3 separate regions of the Homo sapiens genome follow, and regions 1 and 3 are each linked to region 2. The links are contacts of gene promoters, found by promoter capture Hi-C in blood cells and fetal thymus (Javierre and others, 2016). All regions are on one chromosome and are shown on one strand. The core of a region is centred on a gene start or on the middle of the fragment in contact, and the rest is flanking DNA. Distances in the headings are between cores, read along the strand shown. Region 1 overlaps GAREM1 (GRB2 associated regulator of MAPK1 subtype 1). Region 2 holds the start of GAREM1 (GRB2 associated regulator of MAPK1 subtype 1). Region 3 overlaps GAREM1 (GRB2 associated regulator of MAPK1 subtype 1).

What was found. Contacts are between HindIII fragments. The CHiCAGO score rates a contact against its expected background, and 5 or more counts as called.
Region 1: a contact is called between a fragment that was not itself captured here and the fragment with the promoter of GAREM1 in region 2, in 2 of 17 cell types (endothelial precursors and M0 macrophages). The highest score is 8.8, in endothelial precursors.
Region 3: a contact is called between a fragment that was not itself captured here and the fragment with the promoter of GAREM1 in region 2, in 1 of 17 cell types (M0 macrophages). The highest score is 5.7, in M0 macrophages.

What each region holds. Positions count from the first base shown.
Region 1 is chr18:32,277,014-32,279,713 of GRCh38, forward strand. The region is part of intron 4 of GAREM1 (GRB2 associated regulator of MAPK1 subtype 1); the gene reads right to left. Among named protein-coding and RNA genes, the nearest start is that of MEP1B, 88 kb to the left of the region's middle. The HindIII fragment of the contact is 1,799 bases long and covers 516-2,314 here.
Region 2 is chr18:32,469,442-32,472,141 of GRCh38, forward strand. It overlaps GAREM1 (GRB2 associated regulator of MAPK1 subtype 1), which reads right to left and starts at 1,441. Exons shown (of 6, transcript NM_001242409.2): 1 at 867-1,441. The coding sequence starts at 987. RefSeq lists a silencer at 1,196-1,715. The HindIII fragment of the contact is 2,356 bases long and covers 1-1,618 here.
Region 3 is chr18:32,295,672-32,298,371 of GRCh38, forward strand. All of the region lies in intron 3 of GAREM1 (GRB2 associated regulator of MAPK1 subtype 1), which reads right to left. Among named protein-coding and RNA genes, the nearest start is that of MEP1B, 110 kb to the left of the region's middle. The HindIII fragment of the contact is 3,169 bases long and covers 1-2,700 here.

The DNA.
Region 1 (2,700 bases), core at 165-2,664, 190 kb before region 2:
TGTCAGGAAGTCAGGAAAGAGGCTGGAAGAGGTTCCCCTTATGTGACAGCTAGCAAGTCACTGGTGATCTTAGCAAATGAGGCGTGAGTCAAGTGAGGGGGCAGAGCCAGACTCTAGTGAGTCAAAGTTAGACAGGAGGTAAGAGTGGTGTTCGTGAGGGCAGATCACTCTTCTCAGGAATTGTCTGGAAAGAAAGGAGTGAGGCAGTTGTTACAAAAGGATACTGGTTTGAAGAAGGCATGCCTTTTAAAAAAAAACTTTAAAGAAACTTGAAAAAATGTGCCTGGGTACGTATATGCATGCATGTAAGCTGGAGGTCAACTGTACACTGATGCCTGGGACCCTGTGCTCACCTTTAATTTAAGAAGATAAAGGGGAGACCATTTTTCCATTGCTCCCTGCCTCTGTCATGCCATCACTGGCCACATAAAGCTAGAAAAATAAATTAATGGTAGCATATCATCTTAACAGTGAAAGCAAAGATGAAACACACTAATAGAACAAATGCTTTGGAAAGCTTCATGTTTCTAAGTGGAAGTGGTCAACAAAGTCAAGTGCAACTCCAATCTATGGTCCAAATCAAACACATCATAAAATGGAACTATTTTCTTTACTTTCAGAATACTGCCCAGGGAGCTTAACGTCATTTCCTGAGTCCTGGAATAGACATTTAACCTTCTTTTCCCTTCTCTCCTTACAGTTCTAACTCTTGCTTAGTTGGGAGGGAATTGAGCACAGGTCAAGGATCAGTAATTTGTCTCCTCTAAATTGCAACATGTTGAAAATAATGCACGAGAATTTGTTAACAGTAGGAAGCTCATCATTGCATGAGTGGAAAGCAGAGTTACATGTAGATCTTTGGAGGACAAAAACTGAAACATACATACAATTGGAGTGCTTTCTACATAGTATCTATGAAATAATTTCTTTCTCCTGTTACACCTCTTTCTCTGATACTTCCTAGGGGTTTATGAAACAATATGTCTAAGACTGGGGGCTTTTTGGTACAACAGCATTTCTTGGAAAGCCTTTGTTTTTCACAACTTCTGACTCCTCTGTTCTGTGGAGGAAACAGAACTTTCACATGCAGTCACTAACAGGACCAAAGAGCTTAAGAAACGTAAAAGGACAGTTAACTAAGGCATGGTCTTAGCAGTTTTCAGATAGCCTTTTGGGAAAAAAATCAATTTCAGAGCAGTGGTGGGTGCTCAACTCTTACATACAAGATGATGGATCTAGGGACATCTGCTGACAGGGCCATGTATTTCCTGAGTTAACCTTCTAGAATCAACTGTCACATGCCTGGCAGGGGCGTGGGGGAGAGAGTATACCTCCTGTCTCAAAGTTCATATTGTTTGGAATTGTGGACAATCAATAAGGAGATTTTGGCATACTTAGGTGGTGTAAGGATCGTTTTGTTTCCATATTGACAATGATTAAGAAAATACATACACTGTAGGGGAGCTTGATTTAAAATGAGATTCACCTTTCTTGTGCATTTTCTTCCCTAAAAAGCCAAATGCAGGACAATGTCAGCAACCCAAAGAAAGGAGTTTTGTAACCATGCTTCCTTGAACTTTGTAACTTTGCCTTCACTGACTGCCCTCTGCCCTGTATTTTACATTTCTTCCCACACTCCCAGATAACAAAATCATTACAGCCGTTAAGAAACCTTATTTATAAAGAGGCTTTTATACAGAGTTCATAACCCTGTCACATAACCATCAGCGGATATTTTCAGTCAAACAGAAATTAAAGTTTTATAATGACAAAGTACAATAAATGAACCTCTATTTGATTAATTACACAAGGGCAAATGTGATTTACAGTCAAAATCCTGATTCTTAGATGCGTGAGCTTCTTTTTTCCATTTTTATACATTGATGATAAGGACCTAAGACAGACCTTTCTCAGAAATGGTCTCCAATATTCCAGCCTCAGGCAAGGGAGGCCCAGGGGAAGGAGCGGGCAGCCACTTACTCAGTGGCAGGAGGGGCAAGTGGTTCTGAAAAGATGTACTTGTTTAACATTTAGGGTGCTTTCATGGACTCAGAAAGTATATGCCATTGAGGAGTAGAATAAAGATCTTTCCTGAGCAAGGAGTGTACGTGATAAATATACTTAAGTAGTGTATAACCTTCCTATTAATGTGATTTTATACAAATGGTATATACCTAATTGTACAGGTTTGGAACAAGACTTATCCAATAGAACAGGGTCCCCAACTTTTGGGATATGGACTGATACTGGTCTGTAGCCTGACAGGAACCAGGCTGCACAGCAGGAGGCGAGCAGCTGGCAAGTGAGCCAGTGAAGCTTCATCTGTATTTACAGCTGCTCTCCATCCCTTGGATTACTGCCCCAGCTCCAGCTCCTGTGAGATCAGTGGCAGCATTAGATTCTCATAGGAGCATGAACCCTATTGTGAACTGCACATGTGAGGGATCTTTGCACGTTCCTTATGAGAATCTAGGTTGCGTATTCCTTATGAGAATCTAATGCCTGATGATCTGTCACTGTCTCCCATCACCCCCAGATAGGACCATCCAGTTGCAGGAAAACAAGCTCAGGGCTCCCACTGATTCTACATTATGGTGAGTTGTATAATTATTTCATTATATATTACAATGTAATAATAATAGAAATAAAGTGTACAATAAATGCAATACACTTGAGTCATCCCGAAACCACTCCCTCCCC
Region 2 (2,700 bases), core at 191-2,690:
GATGAAAACAAGAGAAGACCAAACACACCTAAATTGCCACCTTACGTGTCATCACTCTCCAACTGAAAGGTGTCTACTTGCTTGACAGTATGCGCAACTATGTGTTTGCAGCTGTCACACCGCAGAATAAACAGTTGGAGGAAGGAGTTGGGTGGGTTTCTGGTGGTCAGTTTCAGGAAATACACCCTTCTTAGTTCTGAGCTCAGGTTCCGAATCAATACGTTTTGGAGACTTATTTTTTTTTCCAGACTGGAAATGCGCTAAACCTAATAGTTAACCTTAAGCATGCCATCACTTCTGCTGAAAACATTTTCTACACACAGCCCCAAATTACTTTCAGTTGGGTTAAACAAAACAGACAAGCTGTAATACAAGGTCTCTGAGAAATGTGATCCTTTTCAATGGTCACCCAGGAGCTTTTCCTTTAAATCTGTTTGGCGGGGGATGGGGGAGATAGGGAGGAGAGCACCCAAATTAAGATGCCACCCGGAGCACAATGATATTCTCAAGAAAGTTGCCTAAGATAACTCTTCAGGGTTTCCCTGGTTGAGTAATTCTTGCAGGAGGGTGGGGAGGGATATCTGGCGTCCAAGATTACGATCTGCAGAGGTCTCCCTATGTTGACTTTTTTTTTAGGGCGTCCTTTTTAATTATACTGCAAGGACTCTGATTTCCACCTCCTTGTCTGCTGCTGGGGGGAGTTGAGAGCAACGCGCCAGGGCTGCGGCAGCCGCTCGGGCCAACTCCGGCGCTCAGGGGCGGGCAGCCCACTCCCCGCGGGTCCCACCCTCTCCAGCACACGCGCGCACACCCGCGTGGAGACGGCTGTCCTCGCCCGTCTGCCCCGCGCCCCAGCTGGGACTCACCGTTGTCCAGGCGCGCGATCTGGGGCAGCCGGTAAGTGCTGACCAGGAGGTCGAGCGGCACGGCCACCGAGCTCCACTTCACATCCTTGAGGCTGCAGCCCAGCGAGGGCGCCGGGTCCATCTTCCCCGAAGCCTCCTGTCCCGCGCTCCCCCGCCGCCGCCACCGGCACCACCCGCGCCTCGGCGGCCGCCGCTGCTCGCGCTCGCGGTCTGGGGCGCGCGGGAGGCGCCGGGCAGCTCCGGCCGCGGGCAGCCGGGGGGGCGCGGCGACTGGGGCGGCCCGGAGGGAGGGGGCCGGCGCCCGGCTCAGCTGCCGCTGCGGGGCATGGCTGGGGCGCCCCGCGTGCCCTCACGCCCGGAGAAGACTCAGAGCAGCCGCGCGGCTGCGGGCGGCGGCGGCGGCCCGGGTGGCTGCGGCGGCTCCCGCTCCGCCTCCTCCTCTGGCCCTGGGTCTGCAGCTGCGGCGGCCGCCCGCTCGCCTCCTCCTCCTCTTACCCCTCCTTCCCTCCGCCTCGAGCGTGTGAGGAGGAGCCGCGGGTCTGAGAAACGCCATAGCAGCGCTCCCAGCACTGACTAATCAACAAGGTGCGAGCAACGCCTGCGCAGCTCTGGGAGACACCGCCTCCGCCTCCCAGGCGCCGCCCGCTCCGCCCCCAGCTCGGCCTCCGCCTCCCGCAGCTCCCGCGGCCCGGCAGGCTCGCGTCAGCTCCCCGGCCGGGGCCGCCAGCGCCCGCGGCTCGGCGCGCTCCGCAAGCTTTAGCTCTCGCTCCCCCGTCCGACCACTCGGGCGCCCTGCAGTCTCGCCGGGTGCTGCTGCGCGCCCCGGCTCCTTCCCCGCCCAGGCCCGTCCCCGGAGCCCGGGAATTGCCGAGCGAGCTCAGGTATCGCTCCCTGAGTCGTGGTGTCGGGCACCGTCCGCCTCCACTCCCATCCTGGCAATGCGGTGGCTAAATACAAGGCACAAAAGATACCTTTAGTGGCGCTCCCTCTTGCTTCCCGGTGACCCAGACTTTGGTCAGAAGAGTACCACAGCCCAACGGGGCTGCGGACGGCAGGCGTGGAGCACGCCTTGGCGTTTCCCCTCAACCCTACTCCTCTACCATCGGAGCTGGAAATGACTCCCAACAGTCTCAGCTTTGGCTACTAGATAAGATAAAAAGGGCAAAGCACCGAAAAGCGGAAAGGTGGTGGGTGATGAGTACCCACATACAGGAAGGTGGCCATTCGGTCTAGGACCTTCACTGAGTGAACGAGCTGCTGGAGGCGACGGGAGTTGATGAGGCCACCAAACACCGTAGACACGGAGATGGGAAGGGAAAACTAGGTTACTGGGAGGCTGCTGGGGTCAGCTGTTCTCACCCGCTTTTCCCATTCAGTTCTCTTCTCATCTTAAAGGTTGGGATCATTCTCGTTTTCTAGGTATATGTACCAAGACATTAGGTAGTTTGGCAAGATTTTATAACTCGTAGATGGCCGTGCTGGGATTCAAACCTACAGTTTGCTTTGCATGATCAATCATTCTCTGTCTCTCCCGATGTTTGACACGGCCTGCTCACTGTGGACAGAGCTCAGAATATAAAGGTGGCATGTCCTGCCTTGTATGCTAATCTGCTTTCTTTCTTTCTGTCTTTCTTTCTCTTTCTTTCGCTTGCTTAACATTTTGTTAAAATAGCAGAGGTGAGTGGTTGCTAAGGTTGCGTATCTGCTCTGTTTTCAACACGTATTCAATGTTCAGTGCTTGATAAGGTACAGCAAGTACCCGCTTCGCCAGCCCAAGGGGACTTGAAAACATCCCGCTGCCTTTTCGTGGCCTGGCTTAAAAGGTCTGTGCTAA
Region 3 (2,700 bases), core at 136-2,635, 170 kb before region 2:
CAACAGTACTATAAAAAACAAACAGCTTTGTTGTTTCCAATAGTGAAGTGAATTTCTCCGTAGGAGACATTGTAAGTACAGAAATGACAGCACAATATTGTTTTAATGGGAATATATGCTGCCAAGGCTTAAAGTCCATTTTGGATGATTCAGGTAAGTATTGCTATTATTTTTTAACAAGATCTCAACCTAACTGTGTTTACTTTTAGTACTTCGGTATTCATCTGGTTCTAACATAGATGCTAGGCATCTAAATTCAAGCCTAGGAATTTAAATACATTTTAGCTTTTTCTTTTTTTTTTTTCTTTTGAGATGGAGTCTCACTCTGCCGCCCAGGCTGGAGTGCAATGGTGTGATCTTGGCTCACTGCAACCTCCGCCTCCTAGGTTCATGTGATTCTCCTGCCTCAGCCTCCCAAGCAGCTGGGACTACAGGCACGCGGCACCATGCTCAGCTAATTTTTGTATTTTTAGTAGAGAAGGGGTTTCACCATATTGGCCAGGGTGGTCTTGAACTCTGGACCTTGTGATCCGCCTGCCTCAGCCTCCCAAAGGGCTGGGATTACAGGCGTGAGCCACCACGCCCAGGTAGCTTTTTATTTGGAATAATCTCAGATTTGCAGAGAAGTTACAAAGGCAGTACAGAAAGTTCCTGTATACTCTTTACCTAGCTTCTGTTAACATGTTATGTGACCATGGCATGTTTATCAAAACTAAGAAATTCACATTAGTACAATACTATTACATAAAGTACAAGTTTTATTTGGATTTCACCAGTTTTTTTCCCATGAGTGTCATTTTGATATCCCAGGATCAAGCCAGGATACCACACTGCCTCTGGTCCTCCGATCTGTGAATTTCTTGGCCTTGTTTCTAAGGCTTTGACAGTTTTGAAGAATATAGCTCAAGGTTTTTGTTTGTTTAGAGCTAAACATCATTTATAAATGACAGTGCTTGACACATACAAGGGCTTTCTTTTTCCATAGGACTTGTAGTTTCAAGTTTTCAGTTATTATTATTATTTTTTTTCTTGGCAGTTTTTTTTTTTTTTTAAGAGACTGGGTCTTGCTATGCTGCTCAAGCTGTACTTGAACTCCTAGGCTCAAGTGATCCTCCTGTCTCAGCCTCCCAAGTGGCTGGGACTAGAGGAACAGGCTGCTCTGTCTGGGTCCTGGTTTCAGTTATTTTATTCTCTTGACTTAGGTCACCAAGAATCATCTGCTATCAATTTTAGCCTTTGGTTTATCCCTAAGGCTTTTACTTTCAACCAGCATCTAGTTAAACTTACAAAAATATAGATCAAAGGTCAGCAAACTAATACCCACAGTCCACACCTGGCCCACCACTTGGTTCTGTAAATAAAGTTTTATTGGGACACTGCCACACCCATTCATTTATAAATAGTCTATGGCTGTTTTCACGCTATGATGGCAGTGCTGAGTAGCTGCAACAGTGACTGTATGGCTTGCAAACTCTAAAATACGTGCTCTCTGTTTCTTACAGTAAAGGTTTACTGATACTGGGTATAGATGGATGAAAAGAACCATGGCCTTTGGAAACTGACAGATACAATACTATCAGCTAAACTACAAGCTGAGTTTCAATCTTGCCTTTACAGTGTAGTGACTTCAGACAAAATGCTTTTAGTTTTTTGAGCCTTAGGTTCCTCACCTATAAAATGGAACATCACCATCTATTTTGCAGGCTAAGTGAACGTATGTAAACAAATGCTCACAGTGCTTGGCACATGGTAGGCTCTCAATAAATGGAGGCCATCGTTACTATTACTTTTATTAACAAAACATTTTACTTTTTTTAAGTGTTTCACATTGCCTTTCACACCTCTGTATTTTCACATAGATTTCTAAGTTTTCATCTCCTACTGTGTTGAAGCCCAAACCACTACTTCTAAGTATTATCCTTCTCTGTACTGAATATCGTTCAAATTTTTATTGACTATGTTATCCCAGAATAAAACTTAATGCCAGAATAGAGCCTGAAATATCATTACAATTATATCCCAAAGGATGTGAACATATGGAAATAATTCAAAATATACAATTTTAGAATAGTCTAGTCTGCAAAACTCTCAGCTGCACTGCTATACTTCCTTTTTATTAGAACTTTGTGAAAAACTTGGCGAGTCACCCATTTGAATAAAGATGGAGACAGGGATAAGATGCAGACAGGGATCCGGAAACAAAAAATGTGTTTCTATCCCTTTAAATCAATATTTACTATATTTTTCCTAATTTATCTTTATAAACATACACCTTCCAGAATTAAGAAATGATAAGTCTAGTGAAGTACTGCACAGGAAATGAACTGAAAGATAATGTCCACCAGTTTTTGAGACTCATATCAAACAGTACACGTACAGATTAAACAGATCAAAGTTCTCCTTACTAAATGTCACTATCTGGGCACATTCAACAGTTTTGTCTACATTTTCGTGTATGTGTGTACTTCTTAAATAACTTACTCCTACTCTCATACATAAAAATGTGTAACATATGTGAGCACAATCTGTATCCCATGCTTCCAACTCTGAAGTCATTATTAATGCTAGCAATTAGCCCTGAATAAATTATACAACTAACGTACTGACCAATTTTGTGGTCACTGCCAGTGACAGATGAAAAATCTCATAAATAAATGCTCTTTCTTTAGCAGTAGAGCCAAATAGTCTCCTCAGGTTTCT